Linked DNA regions of Homo sapiens: regions 1 and 2 are each linked to region 3. The links are contacts of gene promoters, found by promoter capture Hi-C in human tissues and cell types (Jung and others, 2019). All regions are on one chromosome and are shown on one strand. The core of a region is centred on a gene start or on the middle of the fragment in contact, and the rest is flanking DNA. Distances in the headings are between cores, read along the strand shown. Region 1 has its middle 190 kb from the start of REEP3. Region 2 overlaps LOC107984238 (a long non-coding RNA gene). Region 3 holds the start of JMJD1C (jumonji domain containing 1C).

Region 1 (4,510 bases), core at 530-3,029, 240 kb before region 3:
AAATGTGTTAGGCACTCTCCAACCTGGATACAAATTCCAGCATTTTGACAAGGTGTACCTAGTCCTCTTCAGATTCTCTTATCACCAGGGAAAGGCCTGTACAACTGCTCAGTAAGCCTTGGCCGTAAGGTATGCTCCCTAATACAGAATAAAGGGCAGGATGCCACAGTGCGGCCAGCAGGCTCAGTCCCATGGAGAGCAGCCCAGTACGGCTTAAGCTGTAAAGACAAGTAAGACAAGGTCTCTGTGCTCAGGAAACTGGTAATCTAGGGGAGGCCGTGGATGTGTTGCTTAACAAGGTGATAAGTGCATGCTAGCAGTGTGAACCAAGTGCCATGGGAACTCTGAGGAAGCAATGATTAATTATGCAGGGTATGGGGATTAAAGATCTGGGAATGTTTTCCAGAGAGAGAAACAGTGGAGCTGAAACAGATGATGAGCAGGCTTTGATCATGACAAAATTTGGGGGACAGAGTGCTCAGCAAGATACATTCCAGGAAGACGCATGGTGCAAAAGTCTTCCAGACACTGAAAGCTTTTGTTACATGAAATGCTTGGAGCACAGCAGGTCATCCAGGACAGTTGGAGTTTACAGTATAAGGTGGAGGGTGACACGGAAAGACCAAATAGTTGGGTTGGGCCAGATGGTGACTCTCGGACAACCAACTCCTTGGACTTTACCCTGAAGGCAGTGGTGAAGCAGATGAAGGATTTTAAGCAACTGGCTGGGTCAAGGGTTTAGTTTGGTGTATGACAAGCAAAGTTGTCTAAAAGGGACTCTGGGAGGTCACTTGGGGTGGCTTGGACAAGCCAAGTGGAACAGGGGCTTCCCCCCTTCTCCCAGTGGGGTGGGCTGCCCTAAATTTAGCTTCCCACAGAACTGGCAGTTTCTTTCCCACCCTACTCATATGAGCTACCACTCTCCACAGTCCTCAAATCTCCAGAACTGGAAAGCTGGCTTTCCCAGACAACTTCTCAGAACATCTAACACATAACTCAGACTGCCTGGTGCCCCAGTACCTATTTCCATCCCCACTGATAAGTTGTTCTGATCCTCTCTCCACATGGAAAGCAATAAGGAGGTAGAGTCCTTCCCCTAAAACATAACTTGCCATATTCTAAAAGATTCATTTTCTTGGATTCATGAAAGGCTGGGAGATTGTAGATGACTCTTTTGCCTGCTGACACTTGCTTTGTATGTTTCTACAATAAAGCCTGTTTCTAAATTCATACCAAGGGGTATTTTGGAACGCCTTCTGATCCTGGTGTTTTCTGACCAGGGTGACTATGAAGGAACCCACATTGTACCAAAGTGGGATGGCCTAGGAATGGAATAAGTCATTTCCCCATTGTTGATTAAGACTCTTTGTGTTGTAACAGAAAATCCAACTAAAACTGGCTTTAAAATTGAAGGGAATTTATTGTTTCACATAATTGTTAGGGTGGGCATAGAGTAGTTAATCCAGTGTTTTAATGATGCTATCAATGGCCCATTTCTCTCTCTCTGTCCTACCTTCACTAGTGTCAGCATTTTTCTTTTTCTTTTTTTTTTTTTTTTTTTTGAGATGGAGTTTCGCTCTTGTTGCCCAGGCTGGAGTGCAATGGCACTATCTCAGCTCACTGCAACCTCCACCTCCTGGATTCAAGTGATTCTCCTGCCTCAGCCTCCCAAGTAGATGGGATTACAGGTGCCCGCCACCACACCCGGCTAATTTTTCTTGTATTTTTAGTAGAGATGGGGTTTCGCCATGTCAGCCAGGCTGTCTCGAACTCCTTACCGCAGGTGATCCGCCTGCTGCAGCCTCCCAATGTGCTGGGATTACAGGCGTGAGCCACGGCGCCCAGCCATGTCAGCTTTTTCCTTTTTTTTTTTTTTTTGAGATGGAGTCTTACTCTGTTGCCCAGGCTATAGTGCAGTGGCATGATCTCGGCTCGCTGCAACCTCCACCTCCTGGGTTCAAGTAATTCTCTGCCTCAGCCTCCCTAGTAGCTGGGATTACAGGCACCCTCCACCACACCTGGCTAATTTTTGTATTTTTAGTAGAGACGGGGTTTCACCATCTTGCCCAGGCTGGTCTTGGACTCCTGACCTCGTGATCCACCGGCCTTGGCCTCCCAAAGTGCTGGGATTACAGGCGTTAAGCCACTGCGCCCAGCCGTGTCAGCCTTTTTTTAAGGCTGACTCTCCCAATGGTTGTAGAAATGCTGACAGTCACAATCAAGTCTCTAATAGTTACATCTGATGGCAAAGAGGGCTTCTAGACCAGCATTCCAGCCAGTGTCCTGAGATTCACCTAAATCGAGTAAGTTTAATTGACATATTTGTTGTTGTTGTTGTTGTTGTTTTGAGACAGGTTCTTACTCTGTCACCCAGGCTGGAGTGCAGTAGTACGATCTCAGCTCACAGTAACCTCCACCTCCCAGACTCAAGCAATCCTCCCACCTCGGCCTCCCAAGTAGCTGGGACCACAGTCACCCGCCACAATGCCTGGCTAATCTTTGTATTTTTTGTAGAGACAAGGTTTCACCATGTTGCCCAGGTTGGTCTCGAACTCCTGAGGTCAAGTGATCTGCCCACCTCGACCTCCCAAAGTTGTGTGATTACAGGTGTAAGCCACCACGCCTGGCCCTTAATTCACACATTTATGCTCACATCAACTCATATATTCATTGAACAAATATTTATGGAATACCTACTACATATTAGCCACTGTTTCAGGTTCTGGGACATTGAAATCACCTTGAATGACTGATTAGCTTAAAGCAATTGGTACCCATCACGAGCGCTAGGAGTGTGTTTAATTTCCCCCAAAGCACATGGACTGTATAGGGATGGAAGTGGATCCTTAGATAAAGACTTCTCTGCTACCAGGAAAGGGGGAGGAGAGAATAGATACTAGTTTGGCATCAAGAACACCTAATACAGGCTTGCTCCTGAAAACGCAGTTCCAGAACCAGCATTGTTGGCATCACCTGGTAATTTACTATAAATACAGAATCTCAGGTAGTGCCCCAAGTCTACTGGATGAGAATCTGCACTTTAACGAGATCCCCCGGTGACCTCTGTAAACATAGAACTTTGAATGCACTCATCTACAGGATAGATGAAAACAGTGTTATGACTGGGGCTGGAAGAGAAGGAAGTTGGAGAACAAAACAGTCTCTGTACAGACACAAGTTGGGATGTGCTGCTCATAACGGTTCTCCAGAGGGAATCGTGCAGCTAGCCCCTCAGTCAGGGATGATTGTCCCAAAGGGAGATGCACCTACTGAGTGAGGCCAATTAGTGGATCATCCTCTGGGAATTTGAAACGTAAATTATGAGAAACAGATACAGAAGGTTGTTGGAGCAGGGTTAGCAGTCAACAGAACCATAGAAGGTCTAGAAGTACCTAATGAGGGGCCCCCAAAGTGCTCTGAGGCTTAGTTATTATGCACCTCCTTTTATTCAACCATCCAATATTCCCTTTTTGGCTTATGTTAGTTAAAAGGGGTTTCTATTGCTTGCCATTAAAACAAACCTTAACTTACATAGCTTTGACTTTATCGGTATAGTTACCTACTGAGGATGAGATTGGTCTGCCTTGAGGAGGTCACCAAAGTTAATACATTTCACCAAACAATGTCGGAGATGCTTTAGTTGCTTTTCTCCTCAGCCTCCAAACTTAATCGCCAACACAAGCCATGAACACTGAACTGCATTCACAGTTGACAAAGCCATTTTTACACAGTATATTTTAAAATTCTACATATTTTGAAAATGCGGTTTTCATAAGAAACATTCCATTGTTGGTTACCTTCTGTGTATAAATGAATGTATCTTTCTAGAAAGATCCATTCATGTGTCCTCTTTAATCTGACCATCTATTGTCAACTTTTTCAAATGCAGCTGTCTTTTATAAATGTATCTACCAAATAATTGAATTGTTGTGATAGCAATTCTTTTTCCTTTTACACGTGCAATGTTTTCAATCAAATGTTGCCTAATAGCTAGGCTGTTTGGAAATTAATAATCTAAATAGATGGGAACAACAATATAGGTGTTTAAAGTTTAATTATTCCTTCAGGCTCATTGTGAGAATATCAAGGCTTTATTTATTAGTCTGATTCTATATTCCTTGGAGTATTTCATCTTATTCTACAACACTCTCCTTTTCTTCTTTTAAAAAAATACAACAAAACAATGAGGAGGTCAAATCTTATAAGGAACAAACATGACATCACATAGGGAAATGAGTCACTGTGCATCATACTGGGAACTGAGTCAGGACTAAACTGACTCACATCTTTCTGGGCCAAGAACCAATTCTAGTTATATCATGCTGGAAAATGACTCATTTACTACCTTTATTAGCTCCCCTCAAGATCAAATCAACAGCAAATTGGAGTAGGTCTTATGAAACTCAAGTGGCTCTGCTTGAGCCATTACTCTCTGCTGGTACACAGAGGATTTCTGTGTCTGAAATTAACTGGTTGTTTTGCCACAAGAACTCAAGCCCAGCCTTGCCAA
Region 2 (4,445 bases), core at 1,564-4,063, 190 kb before region 3:
GTGGCTCATGTCTGTAATCCCAGCACTTTGGGAGGCCAAGGCAGGCAGATCACGAGGTCAAGAGATCAAGACCATCCTGGCCAACATGGTGAAACCTCATATCTACCAAAAATACAAAAATTAGCCAGGTGTGGTGGTGCACACCAGTAGTCCCAGCTACTCGGGAGGCTGAGGCAAGAGAATCGCTTGAACCCAGGAGGCAGAGGTTGTAGTGAGCCGAGATCATGCCACTGCACTCCAGCCTGGGTGAAAGAGCGAAACTCCATCTCAAAAAAAAAAAAAAAGAAATATAAAGTAAATCTGATCCATGAAACAAAAACAGTTCTGTGAATGAATATATTTAGAAGTCTTTAGATTAGGAATATAGCACAAGACTTGTGTATCTATTCATTATAAAAGATCAGGTTCAGTCCCTCTGAATATGGGAAGGATAATCACATTATCTTACCAGCCATAGGTAGATGAGTATGGATTCAGTACGGTATATTACAATAAGTGAATTCAACAAAATCAGCAATGGCCATTGCCATCATAACTTCCAATGTGGAGGTCTCCTCCTCAGCCTTTTCGGACCTCCCTTAACCTTCAGTGAAGACTTTTCACATAGAACAAAAGTACCCTCATAGTTTTAGAAATGGTTTTTCACTCTCCTGCTTTTCAGCAGCTTTCTCATCAAAGGCTACTTCAGATTGAAGTGGAGAATAAAAGTGACCACCAAAAAGACCATCGGATTACATAAGTGCCCTCTTTCAGCAGGATCCTGACCTATGAGGAGTCTTTTCTTTTGCTGTCTCTCATGACAGCACTTTGAAATCCAGGAACCAGGTCTCAACACAGGCAAATAAAAATGAAATGATGGGAGCACAGAGCCAAAAAGATACACAGTATATCTACATAAGAGGAGGAATGGTTGGAGGACACCACCTCTTCTCTAAAGAGAGCATGTGTCTATTTACATTTAATTCTATTATCCACAGTAGGGTTACAAATAAGAGGCCAAAGGTGATAAACAAGCAGAAAGACCTTAAGCAACACTGGCTACACCTGGCTTTTTCTTTCCTTGCTGCTGCTCGAGTGCTGCAGCTCCCAGAGGGAGGGTTCTCCATGTGTTCTGGCAGGCAGTTCACACCAGATGGAGGGTTAGGGGAGCCTTTTCCCTGGTCCTCATTCCCTAGATGGTTCTCAGATTGACCTCTATCAGTGGCGCCATGGCCAATGACTGCACTCTGACCAGAGAGTGGGCCTTCTTGGGCAGCAGGATGGGCCCAAATAAGCCTTTCGAATATATCAGGTGCAATGAACTGCAGGCCCATTTGTGAATTATATAATAATGTTCTTTCCTCTCGTGCCTGAGATCAGATGGTTAAGTAAATAAATAAGTTACAACCATGTCTGTTTTCCAATGTTATGACTGTGGAATTTCAGATGATTCCTTTAATCAGCCATCCAAACAGCTGAGTCTCCTTTGTGTCCTGATCTAGAAGTGGATCTCATTCACCATGGCTTTCAAAGTCCTCTGGTGATAGGAGAGTTTCCATATCATTGAATATAAATTTAAGTTTTACTGCTGAATTTCCTGGAGATTAATTAATGAAAATCTCTGGGTCCCATTTCACTGTGGAGGTAACTTCTGACATTTAGGAACTGAAGAATTTGGGAGAAAAAACGTAAAGTTATGTCATTGTTTTACTTTTAAAATAAAGATTTCAAAATAAACCAACGTAGAATTCAAAAGGGAGCTTCAAAACTCAAACCCTCAACCCACACCTTTTTTGTTTGTTTGTTTTTTGAGACAGAGTCTTGCTCCATCACCCAGGCTGGAGTGCAGTAGTGCGATCTCAGCTCACTGCAACCCCCACCTCCCGGGTTCAAGCGATTCTCCTGTCTCAGCCTCCCGAGTAGTTGGGACTACAGGCACCTGCCACCATGCCCAGCTAATTTTTGTATTTTTAGTAGAGATGGGTTTCACCTTGTTAGTCTGGCTGGTCTTGAACTCCTGACCTCAGGTGATCCACCCACCTCAGCCTCCCAAAGTGCTGGGATTACCCCAACTTTTTTTCAGACTGCCAGATGCTCCTTATCTTCCTTTCACATTACAAATATCTAGTACTCAGGGAACCATTCTACTTCTATAATTATTAAGGACTCAGAGATTAATATAGCCATTAAACAAACTATAATGGCTGACTTGAAATTGTTATTGAACAAGAAGTATTTTGAACCTAACTTGTACTATTAGAATAAGGAAGTATTGTTTGGGATTAATAATTGATGGTACATTAGACTCCTGTATTACTGAGTTAGTTGACTTTTGAGAAGGCAGTTGAGCAGTTATCAGAGATCATAATGCAATAAACAATGATCTATTCTAGATGACCAGTTATTAGGCTGGAGCAAAAGTACTTGCAGTATATAACTATAATATAAACTTCAGCTACATATTAAAATAATGGGAGAGAGGGGCATTTTAAAAATATTGATGTCCAGTCCCCACTCCTGAGATTCTGATAAAATTGGTTTATTGCTCCAAGACCATTTTTTTGTTTGTCTGTTTTGAGACAGAGTCTTGCTCTGTCGCCCAGGCTGGAGTACAGTGGAACAATCTCAGCTCACTGCAGCCTCCGCCTCCTGGGTTCAAGCAATTCTCCCACCTCAGCCTCCCAAGTAGCTGGGATTACAGGCACACGCCACCAAGCCCATTTAATTTTTGTATTTTTAGTAGAGATGGGCTTTCACCATGTTAGCCAGGCTGGTCTCGAGCTCCTGGCCTCAAGTGATCCACCAGCCTCAGCCTCCCAAAGTGCTGGGATTACAGGCATAAGCCACTGTGCCTGGCCAAAGACCGTATTTTTTCAAAATTACCCCCACTCACCCCCACCATCCCCATCCAGGTGTTTCTAATGTGCAGTCGAATTAAAAATTCCCGTCTTAGTCTGTTTGGGTTACTATTATAAAGTACTGTAAATGGAGTGGTTTATAAACAATAGAAATTTATTTCTCATAGTCTAGAGGCTGGGAAGCCTTAGATGAAGGAGCTGGTAGATTCTGTGCCTGGGGAGGGCCTGCTTGGTTTATAGATGGCCATCTTTTGCTGAGTCCTCACATGGTGGAAGGAGCAAGGGAGCTCTGTGGGGTGTCTTATAAAGGCACAAATCCCATTCATGAGGGCCCTGCTCTCATGTCCCAATTTCCTCCCAAGGCCCCACCTCCTAATGCCATCACCTTGGGGGTTAAATTTTGGATGGACACAAAAATTCAGGCCATAGCACTGTTTATCTAGATTAGTTCTTTTTTATGATAATTTATTCTAAATCACTATTCTCTGGCTTTCATAATTTAGAAAATAAAAATTACAAAGCAATCACAAAATAGCACTGATACAGTGATTACAACAAATTTTAAAAATATATGTGTAGAGACAAGGTACAGATGAACCACTAGATAACTTTTTAATTTTTCTGTAAAGTTGTTTATAAGAGCCTTGGAATAAAATAATAAAATTTTTATATGGATACCTAATTGAGAATAGAAGTTAAGTAATTTCCAGGTTTCCCCTCATTCATGATAGGTTCTGGTTAGAACTCATGTTTCCAGATTCTTGTCTTAACATTCTTTTAAATATTACCTTGATTTTATTTTTTTTAAATGTAAAGGTAACTCTTCAAAAATAATTTAAAAAGCCACTGCCAATTATTATAAACTTTAATAAACATTAGAGGCAGTTTATAGTATATTTGTCAAGACCATGGACTCTGGAATTAGATAAATTACCATATAAGCCTGACTTAAACATTTACTACCCATGGGACCTTAACTTCTCTGAACCTCAACTTCTTCATCAGGAAAATAAGGATATTATAATATGTATTAGTCCATTCTCAAACTGCTATGAAGAAATACCAGAGACTAGGTTATTTATTTATTTATTTATTTATTTATTTATTTATTTTTGAGATGGAGTCTTGCTCTGTCGCCCAGACTGGAGTACAGTGGCGTGACCTTGGCCCACTGCAACCTCCACCTCCCTGGTTCAAGCAATTCCCCTGCCTCAGCCTCCCAAGTATCTGGCATTACAGGCACACGCCATCATGCCTGGCTAATTCTGTATTTTTAGTAGAGACGGGATTTCACCATGTTAGCCAGACTGGTCTCGAACTCCTGACCTCAGGCAATCCGCCCACCTCAGCCTCCCCAAGTGCTGGGATTACAGGCGTGAGCCACTGTGCCTGGCCTGAGACTGGGTAATTTATAAAGGAAAGAGGTTTCATTGACTCACAGTTCCGCATGGCTTGGGAGGCCTCCAGAAACTTACAATCAGGGCAGAAGGGGAAGCAAACACATCCTTCTTCACATGGTGGCAGGAGAGAGAAGTGCAGAGCAAAGCGGGGAAAAACCACTTATAAAACCATTCAGATCTCATGAGAACTCACTCACTATCATGAGAA
Region 3 (4,330 bases), core at 1,012-3,511:
GTAGAAGAGAATTTGGACCAGAGTTCTAAGAATATTAAGATACTTGATTAAAAATATTTTGGGGATATATGCCCTCCTGAAAAACTTTGTTTCTATACATGAAATATTTTGATTGATTTGTTGGATTACATGCTTTTCAGAGGACTGAAAAGGATGGAATTCAACATGTAGTGGGAGTTCCCAGGGGCCCATTTAGAGCAGTTTGCCTACAAAATTGAAAACAGCTGGCAGTTTTATATAAGGCAACTAGCAACCTATACTCTTAAGAATGTAATTTGGTGAGTGGGATTTATGTAATAACTGATGAATTTGCATGTTTTTCTCAAATGACTTTATTTGTATTTTTCGTTTGCTCCTAGGATATCACTGAAAATTAGGATTCAGGCATTTTTGCATTTTTACAATTGCATCATGCCCATGGTCACAAAGCAGATCATTGATGACTTGGTATCTGGATGTTGATCTCCCTACTCTTTTATCCTTACATATGTTGAATTATTGTCACCAAGTCACTTTACTGGTTCCTTAATCTACACTGATTTTAGAAATCTTCATCTGTAATTCTTAAGATAATTTGCTAAGTATTATACAGTGTACACTGAAAAAGTGGACTTGGAAATAAAATTGCCCAAGCAAAATTTTTTCTCTCAACTTGCCGATATGCATTTTTGGGTATGTTTTGCTGTTTTAATTTATTACAGGTTTTTTGTTTGTTTGTTTGTTTTCGGGGGGACTGAGTTTTGCTCTTGTTGACCAGGTTGGAGTGCAGTGGCACGATCCCGGCTCACTGCAACCTCCAGCTCCCAGGTTCAAGTGATTCTCCTGCTGCCTCCTGAGTAGCTGGGATTACAGGCATGCTCCACCATGCCCAGCTAATTTTTTGTATTTTTAGTAGAGACTAAAAATACATTTAGTTTCATCATGTTGGCCAGGCTGGTCTCGAACTCCCGACCTCAGGTGATCTGCCTCCTAAAGTGCAGGGATTACAGGCGTGAGGCACCGTGCCCAGCCTATTTATTACAGTTCTATGTTTGGTCTTTGGCAAAATTTGACCATGATTATTAAAATCCATCTTCCTTATAATTTTGGTTTCTAACCTATTAGCAGTGGTTGTGTTTCTCCACTTCAAATTGCCCAGCTTGAGTGTTCTAGAGAAAACAGATAAAAGCCTTATAGTTATTTTAAACATTCAGATTACTACTGTAAACTCTGTTAACTTTTTTTTTTTAAATAGAGGTTCAGGAAAATCTCAAGAAACTGAAATTTAGAATATTGGACTACCTATAAAAAAGCAGTATAAAGGGTGCCTGAAATCGAACTGCTCACTGACATTTGTAGGGAGGTTTGATTTATAACAAATAAGTTGATCAAAGAAGAGTGATTGTTCCAAGTTAGAGATCTTTGTGTGGGTTAGGGAGTCCGATTGTAATTGGATGGGAAATAAATATTTTTTTTCTTGAATTGTGATTGGCTAAAATCCTTTTCTTTCCATGGTATTTTCTAATAACTGAATCTGGGGATTTTCTCTGCTTTTATTATCTGACCAGTGTGTTTGAGCTGTGTACCAGTACTAAAAGTACTAAGACTGTCGCAGACACGGTTTGTGAAATTTCAGGACGTTGACAAGGGCCCGCCACGGAGCATTTGCTGTTCTTATAATAAAGCAGTGACGAATTTAAATCTGTGAATAGCTTAAACATGTAATTAGTATCACCACAAATGAGAAGAATGAAAGGATCACATTTTCCCCCTCGTTTTCCCTTGAAGTCATGAACGGTTGGTTCTGCTGTGACTTTGGGGCTTAGTTTTCAGTAGAAGTGTTGTCCTGCTCTGCTGCTGTTACTGCGGGACTGCTAATTCAGGCTAACTCAGGCGGCGGGCGCTGTGTGCTCTGAACATCAAACCGCGGGTGAGGCGTCAACCCAGGAGTTTATTTTGTGATCAGAGTGGAACCACTACACTTCACTTTCCCCTCACCTCCACCTCTGAGGGAGCAACGAATACAAAGGTAGACCCCCAAAAGCTTTGAATAGCTGTCGCCTACTTTCCCGCGGCCCTCTTCATTTTTTCGTCTCCCGCTGCCGCCGCCGCCGCCGCCTCTGGATCTGGACGGACCCAGTGGCCGCTGCCGCCTCCGCAGGGCCGGGCACTACTTTCCGTCTGCGGTGGTTCCGCCGACCCTCCCGCGGCTGCTGCCCCGCCCGCGCCGGCGGAAGGAGACGCGCTGCGCGCCGCCGCTGCCCGGGGAGGGAGACGGAGCAGTACTGGCCGCGGCGCGGTGGCGGCGGCTGGGCTGCCTCGGGGTCTTCGACGGCCGCGTTGGGTTTTGTTTCAGTTTTCTTGTGTGGCGCTGCAGCACAAGGCTGCGAATCTGGGAGTCCAAAGGAGTGTTTGCGGGGAGGGCCCGAGGTCGCTGTGTCCGGGGCAGAGCGGCCGGTTCGTCCCGAGTCTGCGCTCTTTCGGGTCCGCTGCTGTGTCCCGGTCCGCTCTCCTCAGCATGAGCGGCCGGTAGGAGTGAGGTTTCATCGGTTCCCTCGCACTGGAGGAGGCAGCGGCCGCTTCGGCAGCGACAGCTATGGCGGTAGAGACGCGGGCAGAGCTGGTGGGTAAGCGGTTCCTGTGTGTGGCGGTCGGCGACGAGGCACGTTCGGAGCGCTGGGAGAGCGGACGCGGCTGGCGAAGCTGGCGAGCGGGGGTCATCCGAGCCGTGTCACACAGGGACAGCCGCAATCCGGACCTGGCGGTAAGAGAGTCAGCGCCCCCCTTTTCCCCTGCCGCGCCCGCACCCGGCTCTCGCAGACGTACCTTGCAGGCTTCCCTCTGGCGCCTCGCTCAGCCCGGCCAACTGGCGGTCACGCCCCTCTGCTGAACCCTTGGCGCGTTTGCCCGCATCCCTTGCCTGGGTCCCTGCGTCTCTCCGAGCGGCTTCCCCTGTGGAGGTGGTGTCGGAGCAGGACTCCCGGGATAGCCGCGGAGGCTGCCCTGGCCCCCATCCCGGAGGGGTCGACCGCGGCTCCCCGCTGTGGCGCCTGGGCGGCCACGGAGACCTCCCCGAAAGGCGGAGCCGCGAGTCCGGCGCCGCGCGGGCAGGTGGGGGTAGGGGGCGGACCACTCATGGCGACAGGCGGCCAGCTTCCCTGGTATCTCTTTTCTTGGAAAAGTCTTCATAGTGCTGTAGCTCGAGACTTAAAACTTATCCTGTAAGGTTGCTGAAGGGGAGGGAGAAAAGAAAAGAGACCTTCCCACACAGTCCGGGGATTCCTATGTGTTTTAGAGGCAGAGGCCGTGGTGGTGGCTGTGCCCGGATTCATCCTCTCCTTAATAGATGCTTGGCTTTCTAACCGTAAAGGATAAAAGTGAAAAATTTTGGTATGGAGGGTAATCTCTCTTTCTGTCCCCAATGTGCTTTTCTTGTTAGAAAGGTATAGTTCTTTGGAGTCAAGCTGTTTCTGGGTTTTATACGATTTTAAATAAGACGAAAAATGTTGTCAATTAAAATGTTAAATGCCATGCAGAATTGATTATCTTTTTTTTTTTTTGGTTTCTTACATGTGACGCTGCCAGTGCTTTCTTTGAGTAGCGTAGGTATGTGCATGATATTGAGCTGTAATATGCTCTGTTGTGTTCCAAGTACATTCTCACTGAGGGACAGCTTGAAGGTAAGGGGCGGAGTAGAGACAAGACATGGACTAGACTTCCAAAGGTTGATTTATGAATACGTAATCTGTGAAATTTATTTGTAATGCCCTGAGCCATTTACTTTTTCAATGAAAACTTCAAATTTAGGAAATTTTTTTCCCTTTGTGTGCATGAAAGCTTACAATTCCAAATTCATTGTAATATTTGTACAGGTATCTACCTAATATTTTTTACCTACCTATTTTAATAGTTTCTGAGTGTGTTTTTGTAAACTCGGGTTTTCCTCACTGTAGTCAATGATATGGTTAATGCGGCATGTATTAATATTGACTCGATATCGCAAAATAGGTGTGTTTTGCTGATAGGTATTTCTAACAGAAAATAGAGGTAGTTTTGAAGGTTTTGGCTGGTTATTTTCGTATAGAAATGTATAATCTTCCTTAAAAAGTATTGGTGATGTTAGTGGTTCTAAAAATTATGGCAGTTCAATTCAGTAACTATTTTTGTTTGTGTAAAAGGCTGAGGTAAGAGGATTGCTAGAGCCCAGGACTTATTAAGAGTCCAGCCTGGGCAACATAGGTGAGACCCCCTCATCTGTAAAAAAGGAAAAAAAAAATTTGTATATATAAATAACTTAATTGCTCTCTTAGTTGGGAATTTAAGTGATTAAAGAGTTAAGTTTGCATATGTT

The links. Contacts are between HindIII fragments. The study calls those that stand out against the background at their distance.
Region 1: a contact is called between a fragment that was not itself captured here and the fragment with the promoter of JMJD1C in region 3, in 2 of the 25 tissues and cell types used here (dorsolateral prefrontal cortex and spleen).
Region 2: a contact is called between a fragment that was not itself captured here and the fragment with the promoter of JMJD1C in region 3, in 1 of the 25 tissues and cell types used here (aorta).

What each region holds. Positions count from the first base shown.
Region 1 is chr10:63,707,269-63,711,778 of GRCh38, reverse strand. No RefSeq gene overlaps it. Among named protein-coding and RNA genes, the nearest start is that of REEP3, 190 kb to the right of the region's middle. RefSeq lists an enhancer at 3,667-4,510. The HindIII fragment of the contact is 3,232 bases long and covers 164-3,395 here.
Region 2 is chr10:63,654,701-63,659,145 of GRCh38, reverse strand. All of the region lies in intron 2 of LOC107984238 (a long non-coding RNA gene), which reads left to right. Among named protein-coding and RNA genes, the nearest start is that of REEP3, 140 kb to the right of the region's middle. The HindIII fragment of the contact is 8,568 bases long and covers 1-4,445 here.
Region 3 is chr10:63,463,908-63,468,237 of GRCh38, reverse strand. JMJD1C (jumonji domain containing 1C) reads left to right here and starts at 2,261. Exons shown (of 26, transcript NM_032776.3): 1 at 2,261-2,743. The coding sequence starts at 2,576. It overlaps JMJD1C-AS1 (JMJD1C antisense RNA 1), which reads right to left and starts at 3,009. Exons shown (of 1, transcript NR_027182.1): 1 at 1,675-3,009. RefSeq lists enhancers at 1,799-1,848, 2,299-2,468, 2,549-2,618, 2,240-3,029 and silencers at 2,119-2,268, 2,809-3,148. The HindIII fragment of the contact is 6,698 bases long and covers 1-4,330 here.